2 separate regions of the Homo sapiens genome follow, and region 1 is linked to region 2. The links are contacts of gene promoters, found by promoter capture Hi-C in human tissues and cell types (Jung and others, 2019). All regions are on one chromosome and are shown on one strand. Each heading gives the region's core, a stretch centred on a gene start or on the middle of the fragment in contact. The rest is flanking DNA. Distances are from core to core; before and after follow the strand shown. Region 1 holds the start of FAM193A (family with sequence similarity 193 member A). Region 2 holds the start of ADD1 (adducin 1).

What was found. The method cuts DNA at HindIII sites, captures the fragments that hold promoters and counts their contacts. A contact is called where the count stands out against the background at its distance.
Region 1: a fragment that was not itself captured here is called in contact with the fragment with the promoter of ADD1 in region 2 in 1 of the 25 tissues and cell types used here (dorsolateral prefrontal cortex).

What each region holds. Positions count from the first base shown.
Region 1 is chr4:2,535,105-2,540,938 of GRCh38, reverse strand. It overlaps FAM193A (family with sequence similarity 193 member A), which reads right to left and starts at 4,292. Exons shown (of 21, transcript NM_001366318.2): 1 at 3,769-4,292. The coding sequence starts at 4,023. RefSeq lists silencers at 3,289-3,338, 3,083-3,377, 3,379-3,538, 3,589-3,878, 3,959-4,058 and 3 more. The HindIII fragment of the contact is 7,680 bases long and covers 1-5,834 here.
Region 2 is chr4:2,841,671-2,847,083 of GRCh38, reverse strand. ADD1 (adducin 1) reads right to left here and starts at 3,240. Exons shown (of 16, transcript NM_001354761.2): 1 at 3,060-3,240. RefSeq lists silencers at 2,779-2,928, 3,049-3,238, 3,299-3,678, 3,779-3,828 and an enhancer at 3,957-4,468. The HindIII fragment of the contact is 4,953 bases long and covers 1-4,560 here.

The DNA of each region.
Region 1 (5,834 bases), core at 1,401-3,900, 310 kb after region 2:
CCCAGGCTAGAGTGTAGTGATGTGATCTGGGCTCACTGCAACCTCCGTCTCCCAGGTTCAAGTGATTCTCCAGCCTCAGCGTCCGGAGTAGCTGGGATTACAGGCATCCACCACTATTCCCGGCTATTCTTTGTATTTTTAGTAGAGATGGGGTTTCATCACATTGGCCAGGCTGGTCTGGAACTCCTAACCTCAGGTGATCCACCTGCCTCAGCCTCCCAAAGTGCTGGGATTACAGGTGTGAGCCACCGCACTCGGCCTGTTTTTTCGTTTTTGTTCGTTTGTTTTTTTGAGACGGAGTCTCACTCTGTCACCCAGGCTGGAGTGCAGTGGCGCCATCTCGGCTCACTGCAAGCTCAGCCTCCTGGGTTCATGCCATTCTCCTGCCTCAGCCTCCGGAGTAGCTGGGACTACAGGGCGCCCGCCACCACGCCTGGCTAATTTTTTGGGGTTTGTTTGTTTGTTTGTTTTGAGACGGAGTCTCGCTCTGTCGCCCAGGCTGGAGTGCAGTGGCGCCATCTCGGCTCACTGCAAGCTCCGCCTCCCAGGTTCACACTATTCTCCTGCCTCAGCCTCCGGAGTAGCTGGGACTACAGGTGCCCGCCACCACGCCCGGCTAATTTTTTGTATTTTTACTAGAGACGGGTTTCACTGTGTTAGCCAGGATGGTCTCGATCTCCTGACCTCGTGATCCGCCTGCCTCGGCCTCCCACAGTGCTGGGATTACAGGCGTGAGCCACTGCGCCCGGCCATTTTTTGTATTTTTAGCAGAGATGAGGTCTCACCGTGTCAACAAGGATGGGATTTTTTTTTTTTTTTTGAGACAGAGTTTCACTCTTGTTGCCCAGGCAGTAGTGCAATGGTTAGATCTCAGCTCACTGCAACCTACATCTCCCAGGTTCAAGCAATTCTCCTGCCTCAGTCTCCCGAGTAGCTGGGATTACAAGTGCATACCACCACACCTGGCTAATTTTTGTATTTTTAGTAGAGACGGGGTTTCACCATCTCTGGGGTTTCATCATCTGTCAACCAGGCTGGTTTCGAACTCCTGACCTCAGGTGATCCACCCACCTCGGCCTCCCGAAGTGCTGGAATTACAGGCATGAGCCACGGTGCCCGGCCCTAAAATGTTTTGTGAAATTTTTGTGTTTATGTGTATGTTTCCTAGATCTTAACGGATTTTATTTCTTGGAGTGGGTCATAAGAGTGGGTCATGGTCAAAAACCTTGATAGGCCAGGTGCAGTGGCTCAGGCCTGTAATCCCAGCACTTTGGGAGGCAGAGATGGGAGGATCACTTGAGGTCAAGAGTTCAAGACAAGCCTGGGTAACATAGTGAGACCCTGTATCTATATTAAAAGAACAAATTAGCCAGGCATGGTGGCACATACCTAGAGGCCTAGCTACATGGAAGGACTGCTTAGCCCAGAAATTGGAGGTTACAGTGAGCTATGACCAGGCAACTGTACTCTAGCCTATGCAACAGAGAGAGACCGTGTCTCTTTTAAAACAACAAAACCCTGATGCATACTAGTTTAACAGAATATCACAGTCCTGTCAAAAATAATACTCAGGTGGGCACAGTGGCAAGGGTCTGTGCCCTTAGTAATTAGTAAAACTAAGATGAGAGGGATCCCTTGAGCCCACAAGCTCAAGGCCAGCCTAGGCAACATAGCAAGACCCTATCTTAATAATAATAGGCATACAGTTATCTGATTTTGAATAACGCGACAAAAATAATAAAGGCAGGGCTGGGCACGGTGGCTCACGCCTGTAATTCCAGGACTTTGAGAGGCCAAAGCAGGTGGATCAGGAGGTCAGGACTTCAAGACCAGCCTGCCCAACATAGTGAATCCCTGTCTCTACTAAAAATACAAAAAAAATTAGCCAGGCATGGTGGCAGGTACCTGTAGTCCCAGCTACTTGAGAGGGTTAGGCAGGAGAATCGCTTGAACCCGGGAGACAGAGGTTACGGTGCGCCAAGATCGCACCACTGCACTCCAGCCTGGGCGACAGAGTGAGACTCTGTCTCAAAAAAAAATAAATAAAAATAATAAAGTTATATTTTACCTAAGTATTGCAAAGCAAATGTAAATTATTAAAACTTGAAATGGTATGAAAGGCTAAAACTAAGAATTTTATTGTGCCACCAACTGGTTTTTATTGAATCAATAGAAATGAATATATTCCACATCCAGCTACACCAAAAATTATCAATATTTTGTGTAAGGATATGCACAGGCAAACCCCCCCCGCCCTCCCCTACCCGACAGCAGCAAACACTGCCCTTAAAAACCCCAAAGATCCAAACGCTCAAGACTCATCCTTGATCCCAAGAACTGCGGCCTGTTTTGATCTCCAGGATACTGGATGAGGGCAATCTCGGGAGACTGAAGTCCAGGACTACAGCCCAAGACCCTAATGTAACAATATAATAATAATAAAAACGGCCGGGCGCGGTGGCTCACACCTGTAATCCCAGCACTTTGGGACGCCAAGGTGGGCGGATCACCTGAGATCACGAGTTCGAGACCAGCCTGGCCAACATGGTGAAACCCTGTCTCTACAAAAATTAGCCGGGCATGGTGGCGCATGCCTGTAGTCCCAGCTACTCGAGAGGCTGAGGCAGGAGAATCGCTTGAACCCGGGAGGCGGAGGTTACAGTGAGCCAAGATCGCGCCATTATTGCACTCCAGCCTGGGCGACAGAGCGAGACTCCGTTCTCAAAAGAAAAAAAAAAAAAGAACAATTTGTGTCATGATTTAGCACAAAAATACTCCCAACGCTTCTTTCATTTTTTAATTGCAATATCTTTAAAACTACATAATTTAAGAGTTTAAATAACATTATAAGAACGCAACTTTTCAAAAAAAATCTATTCTCTTTCAGCAGACAATGGGATAACTGGAAATGACTGCGCCAATTGCATACCCACTTATAAATAGTGTACCCTCTGAAATGTTGTGACCAACGGTTGAATAAAAGTGGCAGGAATCCATAATTGGTAGGTGCAATGTGTGCTAGCTGTCTTCATAAACAAAACTGAAAAAAATCACCTTTCAAATTCCTTAAGTTCGAACCCTAAATACATACCTGAGTAACCAAACCACTAAATACCCCTGAAAACTTAACAAAGCGGGGGAGGAGGGGCCAGGGCTGCCAGCTCCAGGTGGCTGTCAGGTAGATTTCAAATAACCACATAGGAGGACCAAAGGAAAACTTCCGGGAGGCCCTTCTCAATCATCACGCGCACGGAATAACGAAGGTGGCCAGAGAAACATTTCAAAGCCCTGGGAGCGAAAGGGCAGCTTTGCTCACTCCCGGAATCGCAGTCGCTCTGGAACCGCCGCAGCGGGCGAGGCGCCACGACAGAAGCCCGGGCCTCGCGGGTATCACCCGCCGGGTCCAGCGGAAGGCGAAGCGCCGTGCGCGGAGCTGCACCCCGGAGACGTCCCCGCCCGTTGAGGGGCTGCTCCAGCCTGCGGACCAGCCCGTCGCCGTGAGCGGCGGCCCCGGTGTAGCCCTCCCGCCGCCTCTGCTCAGGTTCTCCTCTCAAGAGGCTGACAGAGGCCGCGTCACGCCGAGCACGGCCCACCTGCCGCCCTGCCCCGGGACCTCGGCAAGCGCAGCGCCGCAGGACCCGTTATCCGCCCGCCCGCAGCATCCCGCTCCCAGGCCCGGGGCCGACAGCGGGAGGCCGAGCTCCGCCAAGGCGCGAGGGAACGGCAACCGCGTACCGCCATCGACCCCTGCCCGCTGCCGCCGCTTACCTCGAAGTAGCCTCCGGGGGCGGCGCCGCCCGCGCTCGCGCCCGCGCCGAGAGGCCCGTTGGCCGCCGCCGCGCCGCCCACCAGGCCTGCCGCGCTGCCCGGGGCCGCCAGGCCCGCGGCCTGGGAACCGCGCAGCGCCGCCGCCGGGCCGGCCTTGCCGCTGCTCGCGCCGCCGTTACCCCCGCCCGAGCCGCCGCCGCCGCCCCGCTTGTTCTTCCGGCGCTTGGCCCCGCGCTTGGCGTCGGCTGGGCTCATGGCGGGCGGGGAGAGGGGCGCAGAGCGGGCGCGGGGGCCGCGGGCGGCGGCGGAGGGCGGGGAAGGCGGGGAGGCTGAGGCGGCCGCGGCGGCGGGCGCTCCGGCCAGCCGGGGGGCGCTGCGCGGGGTCGCGTCCGGGTCGGGGAGGGCTGGGGCGGGCGGGAGCTGCGGGGCAGGCCGCTGGGCGGGAGGAACCGCGAGTCCACAGTCCCGGCGCCGCGGCTGACCAGAGTTAGAGTCCAATATGGCGGACACAAGGGGAAAGGGATCCCAGTTTACGTCGGGGGAGGGGGAAGGAGCAGCGGGGAGGGGGAGGGGTGTGGGCCCCCACCCCCCACCCCCACCCCGCCTTACTCCGCCCCCCGGCTCTGCTTTTCCCTTTGCTTGCCCACCCCCTCCTGCCGTTAACGTGCCTCGGCGCGCAGGACACGCCGGGAACTGAAGTCCGTGCTGCCCGTGCAGCAGCTGGGGGTACCCGGGGGTGGACCACGATTCCCGTCAGGCCTTGCGAGGCCGAGGGCCCGGGCGCTGGGAGGAGCTGGGGCCAGGGAGCTGGATGCGGCGGTGATGTCACCGCCTCGCTCGTCGCCGCAGGTCCCGCCCGCGCCGCGCGGCCTTCTGGGCGTTGTGGTCGGGCGTAGGGCTAGGCCGGCAGGAGGCCGCGCCGCCGCCCGCGAGGCAAACTACACGGCTGGCGGCAGGGAGTTCCGCCTCTCTGACCGGTGTCCGCTGCCCGCCCGCCCCGCCCGCCTCGCCCGCGCCCCTGTCCGCCGCCCAGGTGCCGCAGACCGGCGCGGCTCCCGGGATGCACCAGGGGCGGCGCGGCGCGGCCCTGGCCTCGCCAGGAACGCCCGGTGACCTTGGGCTAGTCTAGTTCTGGTCCAGATGACTCAGTGAGGACCACAGAATCCCTGCCTCGTGGGCTGGGCGGGGGTTCGGGCAGCGCTGGAAAGCCGGGCGCGGTGCGGTGGGGTCCGCCTGGGTGCGGAGGCAGCGGCGGAGCCGGCGAATCTTGGACCGGGCCTGGGGCTGGGACACGCCGGTCGGTTCCCCGAGAACCCCTCGCCTAAAGGGTGCTCTTCCCGAGCCCGCCCTCTCCCTGCTATCCCGTTAAGCCCTCTCCAGTGGTCCCGGTGCCTTGCTAATCCACGGGGCCCTAGGACGATCCGGCCGTGTCCCACACCCTCGCACTCACGCACCTCGGGGACGACTAGCCGGGTCAGACCCTCGCAGACGTCCAGATCAGAAATAAGGGCTTGCGTCTGGACCCTCCTCCCTCCGCGGCCTTGCAGACATCTGCGAGCCCCAGGCAGAGCTCTGCCCTGAGACCCGGGCCACGGGGGGACCCTGCCGGCGGCTCCGCCCCCTGGAGGGCCCCGCTTACCACAGACACAGAGGCACAAAGGACATGATTTCCCCTTTTTGGTTCCACCGGTGGTGTCAGGCCGAGAGGCGGCGGGCTTGGCATTGGGATGTACGGCCTGCCAGGCTCCCCTTGCAGCGTTAACCGAGCTCTACTGTTCGTCCTGGGTCCCCGCAACCCGCCCCAGCTGCAGCCACAGCCTCCTGATCCTCTGACCCATTCTTCATGACACAAGCAGAAATCTCATGTGATCAGAAGAAAGCTACCCTTAAAGCCATTCAGATACCATCCTAGACGAAAAAAGGCCCCCCGCCCCATCAGGGTCTTGGATGATCCTGCCACTGAACATGGATTTTGAGAGAGCGGGTAGGAATGCGTTTCTGGCCTCTTTTTCAGTGTCATAGGCTGTCCCTGCCCCTTGCCTCAACCCCTGTCCTTTCCTTTGTCA
Region 2 (5,413 bases), core at 1,991-4,490:
GTGCAACGGAGCGATCTCCACTCACTGCAAGCTCCGCCTCCCGGGTTCACGCCATTCTCCTGCCTCAGCCTCCCGAGTAGCTGGGACTACAGGCATCCGCCACCACGCCCAGCTAATTTTTTGCGTTTTTAGTAGAGACGGGATTTCACCATGTTAGCCAGGATGGTCTCGATCTCCTGACCTCATGATCCGCCCGCCTCGGCCTCCCAAAGTGCTGGGATTACAGGTGTGAGCCACCACGCTCGGCTTTTTTTTTTTTTTTTTTTTAAAGAGACAGAGTAGTGCAGTGAAGTGATCATGGCTCACTGTAGCCTCGACCTCCCAGGCTCACAGGTTCGTACCATCTTAGCCTCAGGAGCAGCTACGATTACAGGCCCATCCTAGCATGCCCAGCTTCATTGGCTACTTTTGAAGGATATTAGCGAAACAATTCATTATGTGAAACCTAGTAAATAATGGAGAAGAATTAAGCATTTATCCTCCCTTTTCTGTAAGAGATACCTCAAGATAACCAAATAGTGGAGGCATGAAAAATTATCTTTATAAAAATATTCTATTTAATAAAAGAAGTTATAGAATTCAAATATCAATATATTCAATGCTTGCTGAAATGACTGTAGGCACTGACAATCAAGGGCTGCGAACAAAGACTACTAATCATTTCTGCCTACTTACCTAAGAAGTTTGCTTGACAAAAGTAAAGCTGAATCTGATCATACCTTTAGATCTAACCACCAGTTTTCAGTAAATTCTGTGAAACTATGCCACAGAGTAAAATTGAGACTGTGCATAACTCCACATGACAAACTACCAGGTTTCATCCATAAATAAATTACAAGAGAAAACTAAATATGGAGGGGAAACTATCAATTAAAATGAGTCACACTGTATAGATAGCATGTGGATCGATTGAAATTGTTAAGAAAAAAAATGAGAATTCTGACAATTTTAACACTGGCTGGATATTTGAAAGTATTAAGGAATTATTCATTTTCTGTGATAGTGGTACTCATGTTTACCTTTTGTTTAAGTCTTTAAGATATACATATTGAACTATTTAACGGTTAAAGGATATCTAGGACTGCGGGGATATGATGAAGCAAGATTGACTGTTGAAACTGGTTGAGAAAAGGGGTTTATACTATTCTCTCTACATATGTGTATATGTTAAGAGGTAAACATGGAAGGAAAGAAAGGAAGGGCAGTCAATCTAACTCTAAGTTTCAAGCAATAAGTAAATATTTTGTTATCTTTCAAAGCATTTCAGTATTTACTTTTCTTATTCAATTCAAAGACTATAAGAACTAAAAACTAAAAATCATGTAAATAAACAGTTTTTATGGCAAAATCAGTAACACAAAACTGAACACCAAACAAAACCTTCTCAGTATATCAGATAACATCAAAAGAATTAAGGGGAAAAATGACCAGCTTGTACGAAGTATATTTTAGAAGGAAAACTATCTCACAATTCGGGGACTGGCTAGAGTTTAGACTCACATCACTCAGCGACTCTCCGAAACTTTAAAACCTAAAGACACCACAAGTAGAAAACTAACAAATCATACCAGCTGTCCATACCATTGTAAACCACATCGAAACTCTGAAAAGCAGTTTTGACTGCCCAAATCATCCACTTCCTGAAAAGACAACTTTACTATTCTAGTTTTCTCCACTGTCAAAATCAAAGGAGTATATTAAAATTTTAACGTAGGCCAGGCGCGGTGGCTCACGCCTGTAATCCCAGCACTTTTGGAGGCCTAGGCGGACGGATCACGAGGTCAAGAGACTGAGACCATCCTGGCCAACATGGTGAAACCCCGTCTCTACTAAAAATACAAAAATTAGCTGGGCGTGGTGGCGCGCGCCTGTAGTCCCAGCTACTCGGGAGGCTGAGGTAGGAGAATTGCTTGAACCTGGGAGGCGGAGATTGCAGTGACTGGAGATCGCGCCACTGTACTCCAGCCTGGCGACAGAGCGAGACTCCGTCTCAAAAAAAAAAGGTATCATCGCGGGCCTTTGTCCATTCAAGGCTCCAAAGTTTACAAACTCACTTTCATACAATTCACACCCTCTGCCTGAAATGCCCTCCTCTCTCTGGTGCCTGTTGAACTCCTACTCATCCACTCCAAGCTTGTTTTCACTAGGCGCCTCTACTCATAGACACAGTCGACCTATCAGCATTCTATTTCCTATCCCCATTAAGATCTCAGTCAATTTTTCACACAAAAAATCTTTCTTTAACTTACCAGTAATGCATACAGCTATCAGCTATGTCTTTGGTCTTTGGAGATATGACAATTGCTTTTTGTCTTTCTAAACATAAATTATGCTCAAACCAACAACAGTTTCAGGCGAACCAAAATACGTTTTTCAAGGTGGGTATGCATAAAGTGAATGCAAATTACCTCCCAACTATCTTGAGCCATTACAAGAGCAAAGATAAAAGTCATCCTAACAGGGAAAGGCCCTCTGACATCTCCCAAAAAACGAAAATAAAAGATTAAGAAAAAAGAAAAGAGAGGGAGGGCAAAGGTGACCAACAGCCCCATCGCTGATAAAGTTCCACGATTATCTCTCGAGCGTCCGTCGGCAGATATGGCTTTTCTCTTTTGGCAGAAGCCGTCGTTTTTAAATACGAGAGCCGACAGATGCGTCCGTACACAAACCTTGCAGCCACCAGCGCTGCGGACCGCGGAACCGGTCTCACAAGCAGGATGCTGACCAGCGTCCAGCCAGGGTCGTCCTCCTCCGCCCCCACCCCTGCAGCCCACAAGCCGGCCAGGAACGAGCGGCCCGGGAAAAGCCTAGTCCCCGGGGTCCTATCCCGATGAAAGATCTGCGGCGCCCTCGCTCCCCGGCTCGGCCCAGGCCGAAGGCCCCGCGGGGACCCCTCCAAGACGCCCTCGGCGCCGCAGCGGCCTCCCCGCCCCCGAGGCTGCCCGGGCCGCCGCAGGCCCCGCGGCCCCCGCCCGCCGCAACCGCGGCCCAGTTCCCCGCGCCCCCGCCGCCGCCTCAGCCCGAACCGGGCCCCCGCCGCCCCCGCTAGCTAGCCTCACCTCAGAAGCGAATCGTGGGCAGCGCGCGGGATTCCGGGGTCCCAGTGCGGCCACCGCCCGTCGGCTCCGGCTCCGGCTCCGCCCCCGTCCCCTGGCCCGCAGCAGCGGCCCGCCAGGCCTCTCCGCCCCTCAGCCCCTCCGCTCGCCCCCACCGCCCGACCTGGGTGCGGCCTGCGGCGCTGCAGCCCAACAACGCGCCGTCCCATAGGCCAAGCCGCGCAGCACTGCCGAGCAACGTACCCTGCGATTGGCGGGACCCATGAGGGGCGGGTCCCCTGCGGGCAGGGCGATTGGACTCGCCAGGCCCGCCTCGGGGCGACCCCGCCGGGGCCTGCGGAGGCCCAGGGTCCCGCGCGGAGTACACCCCGGCCGGCAGCTTCGGGCGCCAGGTCATGGCTTCACGGTGGCCAGGTAGACTGCGGCGAGCCCCTGCCGGGTCCGCTGGACACGGTTTCATTGTGATTGACCTCCGCCGGAGGGGCTGTCGGAGCCCAGGGACCCTGCCCTCCCGCCGCCGCCCAGCGCACTCCCCCAGCAGACGGGCCCTGCCCCGCGTAGCCCCGCCTTGTGCAGTCCCCAGGCCGAGTTTTGGGGCCCGGGTGGGGTCAAGGCAGCAGGGCCTGTGGGCCCCGATAAGGCTCCACAGAGGACAACTGCCTGGCCCCCGGGCCCGGCCTGCGGGTGCTGAGGAGACCAGCGAGCACCAGCCACCTCCGCACGACCAGGGAGTGAGCCTGCGGGGCTTTGGCAGGACCAGCCTCAGACCAGCACCTTCCCGCACACTGTCCCTCCTGCTGGCGCATCTGACACCCAAAAAAACAAGCAGCGAGACAAATGGGCACGGCTGCTTGTCCTCTTGACACCCATAGAAAGCTTAGGTCCAGAGCTGGGCAGTGGCAGAAGAGTGTGGAATCCAGACCTCCCTGCTCAGCAGGAGCCTCTGTGACATTGCCCCAACAAGGGTCAGGGATACTGTCTGGATGGAAGCCAGCGACCCCTGTTCTAACCATTTCTGTTGGACGTTGGCTTTTCCAAGACGATTTTTCTGACAAGATCACAATTCTGTCTCATTCACTTCTGCTTCCCATAGTTAATCACTAGGGAAACGCAAATCAAAACCACTGTGGGATACCACTTAACATTCATTAGGATGGCAGTTGAAGAAGCAGGGAGTTGGGCGCAGTGGCTTCAGCCTAAAATCCCAGCACTTAGGGAGGCAGAAACAGGAGGATAGCCTGAGCCCAGGAGTTGGCAGACTTGACTGGACAACATAAGGAGACCCTGTTCTCTACAAAAACGAGAAGAAAACAAAAAGTTTCAAGGGGGGAGAAGGAGGAAGAAGAGGAAAAAAAGAAAATAAGTGTTGGCAAAGATGCGGAGAAATTGGAACCCTTTGTGCATCGCTGACGGGAATGTAAAATGGTGTGGCTGCTGTGGAAAACCGTAGAGTGGTTCCTCAAAAAATTAAACATAATTACCACATAATCCAGCAATTCCACTTCTGGATATATACCCCAAAGAAATGAAAACAGCTATTTGTACCATGTTCATAGCAGCATTATGCAGAGAAGGAAATTCTATTTATTGGGGTTTTGTGCCTTTTTTTTTTTTTTTTTTTTTTTTTTGGAGTCAGGGTCTCTGTCGCCCAGGCTGCAGTGCAGTGTTGCAACCATGGCTCACTGCAGCCTTGACCTCCTAGGCTCAAGGGATCCTCCTGCCTCAGCCTCCCAAGTAGCTGGGACTACCAGCACGTGCCAACATGCCTGGCTAATTTTTGTTATTTTTTGTAGAGACGGGATCTCACTATGTTGCCAGGGCTGGTCTCAAACTCCTAGGCTCAAGCAATCTTCCCAAATCCAAACTCAGCCTCCCAAAGTGCTGGGATTACAGGCATAAACCCATAAACCACGATGCCTGGCCAAAAGAAAGGAAATTCTGACGCATGCTACAACATGGATGAACACTGAAGACATGCTATGTGAAATAACCCAATCACAAAAAGATAAATGTATGATTCCACTTGTATGAGGTGTCTAGAGTAGTCAAATTCAGAGAGACAGGAGGTAGAATGGTGGTTGCAAAGGGCTGGAGGAATGGGGATTTAGTGTTTAATGGGTACAGAGTTTAAGCTTGGGGTGATGAAAAAGTTCTGGAGATGGATGGTGGTGATGACTGAACAATAATATGAATATTCGCAAAGCCACAGAACTGTACACTTTAAAATAATTAAAATGATAAACTTTATAATATGAAAATTTTATCATAATAAAACAATTTTAAAGCTATTAAAATATTCCTTCCTTTTCCAACTACAAAAAAGTAAAAAGGTCCAGGCGTGGTGGCTCTTGCCTGTA